Linked DNA regions of Homo sapiens: region 2 is linked to region 1. The links are contacts of gene promoters, found by promoter capture Hi-C in human tissues and cell types (Jung and others, 2019). All regions are on one chromosome and are shown on one strand. The core of a region is centred on a gene start or on the middle of the fragment in contact, and the rest is flanking DNA. Distances in the headings are between cores, read along the strand shown.

Region 1 (5,969 bases), core at 45-2,544:
GCCGAGCAGCCCCGGGCGGCCCCCGGTGGCCGTCCCTCCTCCCCGGCACCACGTTCCACAGTCATGGCGCGCGAGGAGGGGCGAGCGCGCGCGGCGGCTGCACCCGCGCCCCCTCTCCTCCCCTCCCCTCCGCCGCCCGGCCCCTCTCCTAGGCAACCCCCCTCCCCGGCCTGCTGCGCCTGCCGCGGCAAGGGAGACCCCTCCCCAGAGAGCTGCTCTTCCAGCGCGGTCTACTGCACCCCTTCCCCGCCCCCATCGGGGCGGAGGGATGGAGACGCGCGCTTCGCGAACCTCCAGCCCCTTCTCCGGAGCCCCAGCCCTCTCCCAGCCCCACCGAGGCCAGGGTGCGGTGGGGGTAGGCGCGGACCGTCTCCTCGCAGCCCGCCTCGACCTCGGCATCTTTGCAAACACTTAGAAAAATAAACAAACCCCCTCACAAACCCCAGTCGTTAGCTTGCAAAGCGTGTTACAATAACCGGGACGGCTACGCAGGAAGCAATCCTGCACTGGTCCGGGTTTAAGGCGGCAGCTTCCCGGCCACGCTGCCTTCTCCCCGGCCTCGATTTTCCGGCCATGCCGGAGGGTCCGCTGCACCTCAGGGCTGACAGGTCCCGCTCGCGCAGGGCCGCAACTGGGCCCGTGTCCCCCGTCCCATCCTCGTCCAGAGACTCGCCAGCCTACAAAAGGTGCAACCTCACGCACACGCAAAGCGCACAAATAAAGTCAGCAGCGCACCGCCGCGAAGGCTGCGAACAATGCGCCGGGCGGCCCGCGCCCGCCGTAGCGCTGCGCCCCGGGGGAAAGGGGACGCGGGCGGGGGCCGAGGCGGACGACCAGCCGGTCGCGGCGCTGGACACCTTACTTCCTGCTTCCCCGCCCGCGGCCAGACCCAGCTCTGCGGAGGGATATCTCCCCTCCTCGGTCCCTCTCCCTCCCTTCCCCCTCCCTTCCCCCGCCCTCCCCCTCTTTTTGCTCCTGCTCCCCCCCCCCACCCCGCCTTTCTCCTTTTGCAAGAAAATAATTTGACAGTCGATTTGCTGACAAGGGAGGAATTTGCATCCTGGATTTAAAAAAAAAAAAAAGGCCGAGAGGAGCTTGGGAACGGTTGCTAGGGGTGGGTAATGGGTGAAAAAAGGGGGGTACCGGGGAGCGGATAAGGAGGGTTAAGGGAGGGGGCGAGGATGGGGAGCAATGCAAAGGTAAGGCCAGGTTACCGCGGCTCGGCCCCGAGTGGGCTGCGACCGGGGGAGGGGCGAGAGATACATATGTATTTCTGTCTCCCCAGCACACCCCCTTCCCTCTAAGCGATGGCTGAGAGGCGGTGCATGCAGATGGGGAGTAAGTTTCCTGAAGGGGAGGGTGGATGCACGCGCGCAGCCCGGCGCTGCAAATTTCCACTGGGGAGGGAGAACGGCTGGATGCGGAGAGTTTGGAGTTGCTTGCGGCGGAGGGCAGGAAGGGGAGCAGGGCTGGGAAAGGGGGCTGGCGGGCGCTATATCTGGGAGTAAGTTTCCAGCATCAGGAGAGCCTGCACGCTTGCTCACTAGTAAGTTTCTGGCCGGGGAGGGCGCATGGGGAGGAGGAGAGGGAGGGGTGCATGTATATAGAAGGGGGGAGGGGGGAGCAGATTTCCTGCGGGGAGGCTGAATGCATATGGAGAGTAGATTTCCTGAAGGGAGGGTGGAGGCGTAGACGGACCGAGTAAGTTTCTTGCTGGGGTGGTGGAGGAGGTGGTGGGTTGGTGCTTTGGAAACCCAAAGCTTCCTACCCTGGGTGGGGGAGCACACTCTTGTCGGGGGGACGAGGGGCCAGGTTCCCTGCTGGGGAGAGGGGCTTGCATCTGGGGAGTATGTTTCCTGGCGGAGCGATATTTGTTTACAGGCTGAGGGCAGTACAGTAAGTGAGTAGCGCTGAGAGAAGGCGGCTGACATAAATTAATATTGAAATTACTCCATCAGCTCTGCTCGCCCCCCATCTCACCCCCCAAGCGGATACTGGTCTTCTCGTCGGATTGCCCATGCACTTGTTGCAGAAACAGCCAAGGTAGGCAAGAAGCTTATTAAGTTTCATTTTTAAAAAATTAGTTTGGGGATGCTCCTCGAGAAGACGGGGGTGGGGCGAAGTGGGGAGGGAAGAGTGGGGAGACAGAAGGAGAAGTCTCCCCCCCCTTTACTTTCACTATGCAAGCAGGCCTTCTCCCTTCTTCCCTTCTTCCCTCTCCGGGCTGCACAGCATCCCAGCAAAGGGGGAGGGATGAGGTGGGCGCTATAATTGGCAACCCTGGCTTAAAGGTAGTGATGGTGGGCTTGCATTTGAGGTTGTGATGTTATAAAGGCTTCATTCTCCAGCTAAGAAACCGCAGGACTCTGCCTTTTGGGGTTTTTGACATGATACATATGTGTATGTATACGCGCCTGCGGGCTCTGTGGGGGCTGGGTACTCCCCAGAAGTTAGTGTGGCCACCCAGATGGGAGAAATGTGTAAGGGGGTAAACCTGTTCCTTCACTCCCCAACTTCAGTTTGGGAGACTGGGAAGTTACTGCCGGTGGTCTTAAGAAACAGATATTAAAAACCAACCAAACCACTCCTTCACCAGCGGAGGCCGAGAGCACCTGGCAGGCAGCCTCTGGCCAGCACTGGACTGGAGCATGTGCGCCTGCCATCCTTAGGTTACAAGAAAACGCTTTCTGGTTCCTCCGTGTGTCTTCTACCGGCCTGTTAGAGCCAGCTTTGTGGAAACTCTTCCCCAGACTAGACGCAGCTTTGGCAAGTGCCAGTACTGAAGGGGATGGCTTCAATTCAGCATGGCCTGGGCTGTCTTGTGAGTGCGTGGAAGTCGTGCTTAGGAATGACCGCCCCTGTAGTGGCTAAAGAGTTCATTAAAAAATATCTCCTGAAAACCGGTCCAGGTGCACTTTTCAGCAGGTCATTGAGGAGAGTTTTAAGAAGGGGAGTTTTAAGTTGTCCCAGTTAGCACCCACCTTCTGCATCACTGACCCTTTTAAGAAAGGAGTTTGGCGATAGGAAGTGTGGTGTTGATGCTCACTGACTGGAGAGGATAACAGCAGGAGTCCTCAGTGCTTAACTAGTTAACCAGCAGCCTTTGCCTCTCCTTGCCTCTGTTTTCTTGGTCCTCAGCCTACTGGTTTCTGCAGAAGAGTTGTAGGTCTTAGCTGTCAGCTACCTTGATGATGCTGGGAGTTTTAACTTTGCTAGGATAATTTTAGCATCTCGGGTCCAACCCGGAGACGTTTAGTAGGGTTAGGGAGTAGCCACTAGGCAGTGGGGTTAACTGAGGTTGGTTAAGCTTTCTGCAATTCTGTAGACAGGCTCTGTTCTAGCAGGGTCGAGAAAAATGGGTTTTAAAAAACTCGCTACACATTGCTGATGGAGAGTGCTTTTTTTCTTTCCTAACTGTCGTCAGATTTCCAGATTGAGGGTTGATATTTGGCAGTTTGAGAGTTGAGTTAGTTGGGAATTAAATATTATTGCTGCTTATCAAATGTTCCTAACTAGGCATTAGTTAAGCAAATTAGCTATTATTTTTACCTGATGAAAATCTGAGTCTGGTTGTTGTATTTGCTGGGAGGGTAAACAAAATCTTTATGTATGTTCATTCCAGGGTGGAATTATTTACATGCCTAGCCTCAGAGCCAAGAGCAGTCATTCAGGTTTTTTTCCTTATATTTATGAGATTTATTTTATTGTCTTGCTTTGGCCATTAATCAAGTCACAGTAGTTTTTTTTTTTTTTCCTCTTCTACCGAGAATGTTCTTGCGGTAATAAAGGCTTGAAGGCCCATGAATCATAATTCGTTCTTTTTAAAATATTGTGGTGATTGTCAGGATCTGATTTATAGGAATTGATACCCGGAGTGACACACCTCTCTGGGCTCCGCCCTTTTAGGCATGTCCATTTTCGCCAAAGGATTGTTTAGAAGCCAGCTTGACATCCCAAAAAGAGCATTTCCCTTCTGCTGTATGAGAAGATTAATTTTGCAGGTTCCATAGTAAACATGGGTCTTTTCACAGCTTGGTAAGCAGGCTTCCACATAGCAGGCATGTGTTATTATCACATAGCATTTATGTGAGCTTGCTGTGAAAACAGTTGTTCTATGAACTGTGTGGAAAGTACTCAGTTTTGCCTCCTATAACCGGCTTGGGCCTGTGGTTTTTGTTGAGTTAGGAACTTAAAGTGTAAAAGAGGAGACAGACTGCAGTGTTCTTTGCTGCTTGTATAATAAAATGTGTGGTCACAAAAAATAAAGCTTGTTTATGATTTTCTTTTTCTCCTTCTTTAATGGGTGGGTTGGTTATAATAACCGAAAGCGTTATTTTTTTGACAAATGTAAGGATTCTCTGTGAAGCTGATTAGCCAGGAAGTGTTAAAATTGTCTTGTGTTCAATAGTTGGCTTAAGTTTACAGTATTGGTAAAGTGACAAAGAACTTAAAGTAGTTTGATGCTCAAGGCTAGGGGAAACATCACTGGAAAGAAAGGTGGGGAAGGTACCAATTTCTAGCCATTTCTGGGCTTTGGATTTTTTATCTTAAAAGTGCGTGGTTTGATCCGTGAGTTCCCTTCCGGCTCTGAAATTCTGTGTCTTGTAAGCGAGGTCTCCAGAGGTCTTGACAGTCTCTTCCTGAGCCAACGGCCAATTGCTTCATGGACTTGGGTGAGCTGATTAACTTCTGTTTTTGTCTTCTCATGGAGAAAGTGGATTTGATCCTTGGTATTCCAGAAAGGTCTCTTGAGTGGCCTGGTGATCTTGACCATCAAACACAAGGAAATACTTATGAATAAATGTCTGCCAGTGTCTTGGACAAAAAATTCTCAATTCTATGCACTAACAGAGAGTGCAGCATGTACATATCCTAGGTACCAAAAATAATTTCTGTTCATCTTAGAAGTTTCTTCTCCAGCCAGTTGGTTAACTTGTCTAATCCTTGGTCAAGTCTAAGGTTAACCAAGCTCTTATTCCCAGGCAGCAGGAGGAGATAGCTTTGGGGAGAAACTGGAGACCAGAAAGCCCAGTGTGGCTTTGCCTGCTTTCTGTGGGTAATTGGGATTTGGCTGAATATTTGTGATAAGGTTCATAATAATGATATAGTATCATTTTTATCACCAGGATTCTCTGTATTTCACTATGGGCATTTTTGGGAGAAGCTCTTGATGTTTTTATTGACTTTGGACATTGCCATGAAAAGTAAGGATTTAGGGCTGGGCGCGGTGGCTCATGCCTGTAATCCCAGCACTTTGGGAGGCCGAGGCAGGCGGATCACCTGAGGTCAGGAGTTCAAGACCAGCCTGGCCAACATGGTGAAACCCCGTCTCTACAAAAATACAAAAATTAGCTGGGCATGATGGTGGGGGTCTGTAATCCCAGTTACTTGGGAGGATGAGGCATGAGAAGTGCTTGAACCTGGGAGGCAGAGGTTGCAGTGAGCCGAGATCATGCCATTGCACTCCAGCCTGGGTGACAGAGCGAGACTCTGTCTCAAAAAAACAAAAACAACAACAACAAAAAAGAAAAGTAAGGATCTAGGCAAGTGGCTTATACCCCAGGCGGTATAAATGGTGCTCATGGTCCTGCTCTAAAGGCGGTTGAATTCAGCTCATTTTATTTCCGACCTCATAAAACTGTGTGGCTGAGGGAGGAGGAAGGATTAAAATCATCTGGGATCTTGTGGATTAATGATATTTCTGAATTTGCATGTTGAAGGGAAACCAGTAAAATAAAGGAGAACTAACGAATAGTTGATTTCTTTTGTGGAGAGAGGAGGACAAGAACAGCTGGATTCCAGTTACTGGCGTGCGTTGCCACAAGGGTGCTGTGGGCATTTTTAAGGAATAATATAGTCTCAGTAACATGAGTTTGACCCCAGGGCTCTCTTAATAAATCTTTTCTTCTGGGCTAAAGAAAACACACAACAAAAAGCCTCTGTGATATTTTCTAAGAATTTTAAGTTCT
Region 2 (6,670 bases), core at 2,468-4,967, 660 kb after region 1:
ATTTACGTACTGGGTATAGATGAATGTCTCAGTTGCATCTGAAATTGAATCATTCTAAAGAGAAGAAAATAAGAACCAGGTAAAAACTGACTAGATGCTGCCAAATCAAACCCAAGGTCTCCTAACCGAACCTTAATGGGCCTGCTTCTCTCCCAGGGCAAGTAGTTAAGAGTCTCATTCCAGGAACCCTTTGTAGTTAGTTGGCTGGCATGTTTACTTGCTGCTGTAGCCAGCCAAGATGAGTGCACCTAGGCCCTCAAAAAGGATTTTTTTTTACCTCAATCTAGCCTGACCCTCATATCTGTGGTTGCCTCTGAGACGAACATCCATGCTAGTATAAAAATAGTTAGGAATGCCCTTGGCAGAACTGAAGCTCTTATTAAATGGTGGACAGAGCTCTTGCCAGCTTTGATCCAGCCCCTCAGTCTCGGAGTTATGGGGCAGGGTTGGGGGGCAGTGCTACACTGTAAAGAATTTCCAGGCTGGGCGCGGTGGCTCATGCCTGTAATCCCAGCACTTTGGGAGGCCGAGGAGGGCGGATCACAAGGTCAAGAGATTGAGATCATCCTGGCCAACATGGTGAAACTCCGTCTCTACTAAAAATACAAAAATTAGCTGGGCATGGTGGCACGTGCCTGTAGTCCCAGCTACTTGGGAGGCTGAGGCAGGAGAATCGCTGGAACCCAGGAGGCAGAAGGGGCAGTGAGCCGAGATCGTGCCACTGCACTCCAGCCTGGCGACAGAGCGAGACTCTGTCTTAAAAAAAAAACAAAAACAAAAACAAAAAAAAAAAAAGAATTTCCAGATGTCTCTTAAAATGTCATGAATAAAATTGGAAACTGTAGAAGTGTTAATGTGTCCTATGGACTCAATAGCAGAGTTTATTTTTGTTTTTAATGGCAAGGCTTCTAGAGTCAATGATTGTATGAGTTTGCTACTCTGGCTGTGCTTACAGCTTCATCCAAGTACAAGGGAAGAACCAATGAGGTGGATTGGCTGACAGTGGGGCATGCCCCAGCATAAGCCCTAGAGAGGTCGACAGTAGTGCAGAATGAAAACTTGGTCGGGGATGGCGGGTGGTGGGTGGGAGGAGGGTGGGCTGGCCGGGAGGGAGAAATGGAGTTTGTTCTACTTACTGATAAAGCTTTGTGAACTAATTTTATACAATTCATAAAATTTGGTGCCTTGTACTCAATTACGGTTTGCATGGAATTGAAAAGATTAAGGGAAAGGATTTCTTCTTGTCATTTCAAGTGGCAAATGGGTCTGTGTAGTGTTTAAAGGACATCTGGTATCACAGACTTTTAAAAAGCATTTCATGTCTCTTGTGTGTGAATGCAAATTATTCTTACCAGCAAGTTCTGAAATTATGTTACAATGTCCAAATTCTTTGTATTTGTGACTGTTCATCAAATGGCTGCTTTTCAAGGCAGACTGTGTACTCCATTGTTTTTCACTTCCCTTGTCATGTTCCATACATTGACTTGGGCCTTTTTAAATCAGGCTGGGGGGCTACCCCTTCTTAAATGAATACTATATCCCTATCTGAGGTTACCTCTTGTGAGTGGAAGGGTTGCTTTCCCAGGTGGTTGGGAGAGCACAAATGTTGAGAAAAGGCCTTTTAGTCTTTATCAAAACAATGACTAATGCTGGGCAACATATAGCAGAAGTCAAACAAAAATGATTCCTCCTGAAATGGTACCTTCATTGGTTCTGATGTTCTTTTGCAAAAAATGTCCGGAAGCAGTATAGAAAACCCCCTGTATGTGAACCTTAGATTGTAAGGCAAGCCAGTGCACTGTGTAATATGCAAAGGGAGTGGTGCAAAAGAGAAGGCACCCGTCCCAGCTCTCCATGCCCTTTCCCTGGCAGGCGCTGACTGAGATGGCGCTGAGTGAATGTGGAAGGTGCTAAGACCCAGTCTCTTCACTGCAGGGCTGTTTACAGCCAGTTTCTTTTACTCTGACCTTAAGGTTTCCACTGAGCTCATGAAACTTCAACATATGGTGTTTAAAAGTTTCCCACTCAAATGCACACTTGAAAATTGGGTCCCTCAGCCTCATTACTGAACTAAATAAGTGAAGAAGTTGTATCTTTGGGGTAAAACTTTCCAGGGCCACTTAATTTTTTAACCAGTTAAGTACGCATCTTCCTGGTGGTTCAGACTTTTTAAGTCAGTGCTAAAGCTGAAAAGCGCCTTCTAAATATGACTGTGAGTTTAGTTTGTATCTTACATTTAGTAACTGTTCTGTTGGGCCAGGACTATGACTTTAATTACTATGTACTTATTCATCCCACACTCTGCACTAAATACACCATAGCTACTATAGCATTGTGGCAGGCACTCATTTTTGTGGACTCATTCCATACTTCTGCTGGCATATTTCGTTTAAAATCTAGCTAAAGATTTTCATAGTACTGTGTTAACTAGCCAGGGCTGAAAAGTGTGACAGGATATCAAATTGACTTTCCTTGGGGAAAATGTTGCTTTGGCAATAGTGAAGTCCAACTCCTTCATTTACAGAATTAGTGATTACTCATCAATTTTTGAAAGTTGTAGATTAAGTAGTTTTATTTACTAAATTCTTAACCACTTTGAAGATTTAAGCCAGTTGAAATGAAACATTGGCTGGATGCAGTTGGCTAGCACCTGTAATCCCAACACTTTGGGAGGCCAAGGTGGGAGGATTGCTTGAGGCCAGGAGCTCAAGACCAGCCTGGGAAACATAGATTTGAAATCTTTTCAAAAATGTATAAAAATTTAATAAATAAATAAATGAATCCTTACTCAACCATAATTATGGCTTTAAAACCCAACCAACAGTAAACACTTACTTGAAGCCAAAACAGTAAATTTTGAATGAAATTTGAATTATGCTTTTGGAAGCTGCCATGTCTTAATTCTTGCTGGATTTTGATTTTCAATTTTGGAAGTTTTTATCAAAACTGTCCAGTCATGAGTATATCAGGTAGCAGCCTTTAAGGATCTAAGTTTCATTCCTATAAAGAACAGGAGGTGCTGGTATTTCTTGTCTTAGCAAGTGATCTGATGCAGGTCTAAATGGGGGTTAGCATCTATACTATGGCTTAAAAGTTTCCTCCTTGGTCACCATTTGGGAGGTGATGGCTTCAAAGCTAAGCTTTGCTCTCATGTGACCCTTCTTTATCTTAATACCCAATAAGATATAAACCTCTCAGAGTCAACCCAGTGTAGACTCAAAGGGTCTTAGCTTCATCTATCAGATAAGATCTATCTGATTTATACAAAGAATGGTGCTGTTTTTATATACATACTAAAAAAATCTAATTCTCAAACAATTTTCTTAATATTTATGCCAGCAAGGTCAGGAAAGACTATTTTGTCCTGTTTAACTTTAGTAGTGAACAAACTGCTAGAGACATCTGTCATCCTTAACAGGCCACTGTGGTCCTTATATACTGACCCTCCTTTCCAATTAACGTCCTTTAATCCCATACTAGTTCCATAAGAGACTTGGCACATAAAAGCAGTATTTTTTTTAATGCCTAGTAAACTGGCCAGAAAAAAATATTGCCATGGTGGACCTGTTTCTATCCACCTCTTTCTATGGCTATATAAGTCTATACATGCCAGTTCCGTACATACTCCATTTCCAAAGAGCCCCCAAACCCTGGACAGTAGCACTACCATGAATTTTAGGGTCACAAAACATTTCCTTCTGAAGGAAGCAGCTGCCTCAGCAGTGTCACTTTAGTGACCACTGCCCAGGCTTACTTCACTTTGCCTCCCCCTACACATCACTGCCCTCTTTCTGCCACCAAACCTCACTATTCCAGCAATGATGCCTCCCTGGTGTCTGGAAAACCCATCTGGTGCACTAAAATGCTATGCAACACCAAATGGCTTCTTCCCCTAATATTGCTCAACAATGTAAATTCTTCAAGAATAAACTTCATGCTAGGTTAACATCAATGTATGGTTACAGCTTCCTTTTTTTTTTTTCCCTTTTAAAATGAAGCAAACCACCTCCATTAAAATCCATGTTTTGGGGCTTGTTTTTGTCTCTCAAGTGTGAAATATAAATCATGTTTTTATGATTTTTGTAAATCTTTTTACACCTTGTTTTTGTAAGCAAAAGTTTCTTATTAAAAGAATAAAATGACTGCCTTTGTGTGCGGTATTTATTTCAAATGTTTTTTAAAACAGCACTGTTATTTCTCAGGACAAGAGCAAAAATCACCCCCTGCAGAAGCTTGGGAACTATGTACAGAACTTTACAGAATAGAGGCAATACTTTAGCTTAAGCCTGTCTGCTGACCAGAGAATGGAATTCTGCGTGGACTCAAGGAACAAAAGGAAACTAGGCAGGGAAGGGGAAGAAAAGTGCCCATCTGAATCAAACTTCAGCTGCCATCAGGGCACATCTTGTGGTGGTCACAGATTGTAGGCTGTTTTTTGGAAGATTCGGGTTCAGCACAGGATTCCATTTGTCTGCAATCAGATGATAAGACGACAGGTGGCATTAGAACTGTAAAAGTATGGGAGGGAAACTGGTAAGAGATACTTAAATCCCTTTCAACATCTGAAAACACATTTAACTAGGAATAGTTAAGGGTTTTACATCACATTCTTTTGTACATTTCATGAATACTTGACAGAAAACATTGCTTCACCCAGTCTCTAGGTCTCCTAAGACACGCATGGGTGTAGTTCAGTGCTTACCTACTTGGCTACACCCCTGGCTGAGGTGCCATGAGGTCAATGTCACTCAAGTTCCTGGCCAGCCAAACTCCCGCAGCAAAGAGTCCCAAATTTAGTATCAAGTTCCTGGAAAAACAATGTGTTTTATTAACCCTGTGGTCACTGAGTCAGTTGTACAGTTAACGAAATGTACTGGGGGGAAAGGCTTCCATCACCACCTTCCCGAGGCGTTGATACGTGGTTGTGACGGCAGGTTGCTCAAGACCCACGTGGGAATTTGGAGTTCATTTTTGTGCCTAGTAAGTGTAAGGTCAGGCTGGGCGCGGTGGTTCACGCCTGTAATCCCAGCACTTTGGAAGGCCAAGGCAGGCGGATCACGAAGTCAGGAGCTCGAGACCAGCCTGGCCAACATGGTGAAACCCCGTCTCTACTAAAAATACAAAAATTAGCTGGGCGTGGTGGTGCGCGCCTGTAATCCCAGCTACTGGGGAGGCTGAGGCAGGAAAATCGCTTGAACCCGGGAGGCGGAGGCTGCAGTGAGCTGAGGTCCGCCACTACACTCCAGCCTGGGCGACAGAGCGAGGCTGTCTCAAAAAGAAATAAATGTGGCCGGGCGCGGTGGCTCACGCCTGTAATCCCAGCACTTTGGGAGGCAGAGTCGGGTGGATCGAGAAGTCAGGAGTTTGAGACCAGCCTGCCCAAGATGGTGAAACCCCGTCTCTACTAAAAATACAAAAATTAGCTGGGCGTGGTGGCGCGCGCTTGTAATCCCAGCTACTGGGGAGGCTGAGGCAGGAGAATCGCTTGAACCCGGGAGGCAGAAGGGGCAGTGAGCCGAGATTGCGCCTCTGCACTCCAGCCTGGGCGACAGAGTGAGACTCCGTCTCAAAAAAAAAAAAAAAAAAAAAAAAAAAGGCCGGGCGTGGTGGCTCACGCCTGTAATCCCAGCACTTTGGGAGGCCGAGGCGGGCGGATCACGAGGTCAGGAGATCGAGACCATCCTGGATAACACGGTGAAACCCCGTCTCTACTAAAAATACAAAAAATTAGCAGGGCGTGGTGGCGGGCGGCCGTAGTCCCAGCTACTCGGGAGGCTGAGGCAGGAGAATGGCGTGAACCCGGGAGGCGGAGCTTGCAGTGAGCCGAGATCGCGCCACTGCACTCCAGCCTGGGCAACAGAGTGAGACTCCGTCTCAAAAAAAAAAAAAAAACAAAAAAGAAATGTAAGATCAAACGCAAAGCCCAGCTAAAGCACTAGTCCAGGGCCGAAAAAGCCTGTTTACGTGCTAGCACTTCTTCCCTTGATCAGGGTGACATTACAGATACAGCCACATGACAGAAAGATCGCTTTTGCCACACGGGAACTCTCCTGGCCAGGGATCTCAGTGAGGCACAGCCAGAGCTACGAAGACGCCACAATGCTGGTAATGTTAAAAAACAAAAACAAAAAACCCTGAGGCGCCAGCCTCGCAAGAAAGGGGAAATACGGATTTAAGGGCCAGAAAAGGACCAAGTTCCTCGGGCTCGGTTACCTCCGGAAGTCATTCCTATCAGTGGCAAAGCGGTAGACGCCCCGAAGCCAATCTCCCACGTTGTCCGGTATTTCGGGAGTTTCATTAGCCGAGCCAGCAGCGCTCACCGGGACAGTGCTGGAAGCCATAGTGGAAAGCTTCGCATGGGCCTCGGTGGAGGAACCGTATCGGCGTCGCCGGTGAATGACGCACCTCCGGTCTGGCACTTCCGGCTGCTACCGGCCGGCAGTGGGGGCGCTGTTCGCTTAGTCCGACATCCGGAAGAGGGACGGCCCTCTGCTGCGCCTCCACGAACTCTAGGAGGGGAGGAGCGCGGCCCGGTTCTACGGTCCCCTGCTCCCGGTCCCACCTCCGGCTCTCCAGCCGGTAACTGTCACGCGTGCTGTGATCATTTAATTGGCTTGGGAGGAGGATGGTGGGGACGGGGCTGTCCCAGCCTGTGGAGGTGGGGGTAGGG

The links. The method cuts DNA at HindIII sites, captures the fragments that hold promoters and counts their contacts. A contact is called where the count stands out against the background at its distance.
Region 2: a contact is called between a fragment that was not itself captured here and the fragment with the promoter of TRERF1 in region 1, in 1 of the 25 tissues and cell types used here (dorsolateral prefrontal cortex).

The regions. Positions count from the first base shown.
Region 1 is chr6:42,447,251-42,453,219 of GRCh38, reverse strand. TRERF1 (transcriptional regulating factor 1) reads left to right here and starts at 1,294. Exons shown (of 18, transcript NM_001395490.1): 1 at 1,294-1,546; 2 at 1,959-2,043. LOC124900214 (arf-GAP with GTPase, ANK repeat and PH domain-containing protein 2-like) reads right to left here and starts at 860. Exons shown (of 4, transcript XM_047419627.1): 1 at 1-860. The coding sequence starts at 399. LOC107986596 (a long non-coding RNA gene) reads right to left here and starts at 860. Exons shown (of 5, transcript NR_171668.1): 1 at 595-860. RefSeq lists silencers at 1-279, 750-829. The HindIII fragment of the contact is 3,351 bases long and covers 1-2,681 here.
Region 2 is chr6:41,787,369-41,794,038 of GRCh38, reverse strand. TOMM6 (translocase of outer mitochondrial membrane 6) reads right to left here and starts at 6,345. Exons shown (of 3, transcript NM_001382294.1): 1 at 6,214-6,345; 2 at 4,703-4,807; 3 at 4,144-4,471. The coding sequence starts at 6,341. The coding sequence ends at 4,711. It overlaps USP49 (ubiquitin specific peptidase 49), which reads left to right. Exons shown (of 8, transcript NM_001286554.2): 8 at 1-4,143. It overlaps PRICKLE4 (prickle planar cell polarity protein 4), which reads right to left. Exons shown (of 8, transcript NM_013397.6): 8 at 6,587-6,670. RefSeq lists enhancers at 5,898-6,587, 5,658-6,657. The HindIII fragment of the contact is 3,149 bases long and covers 2,143-5,291 here.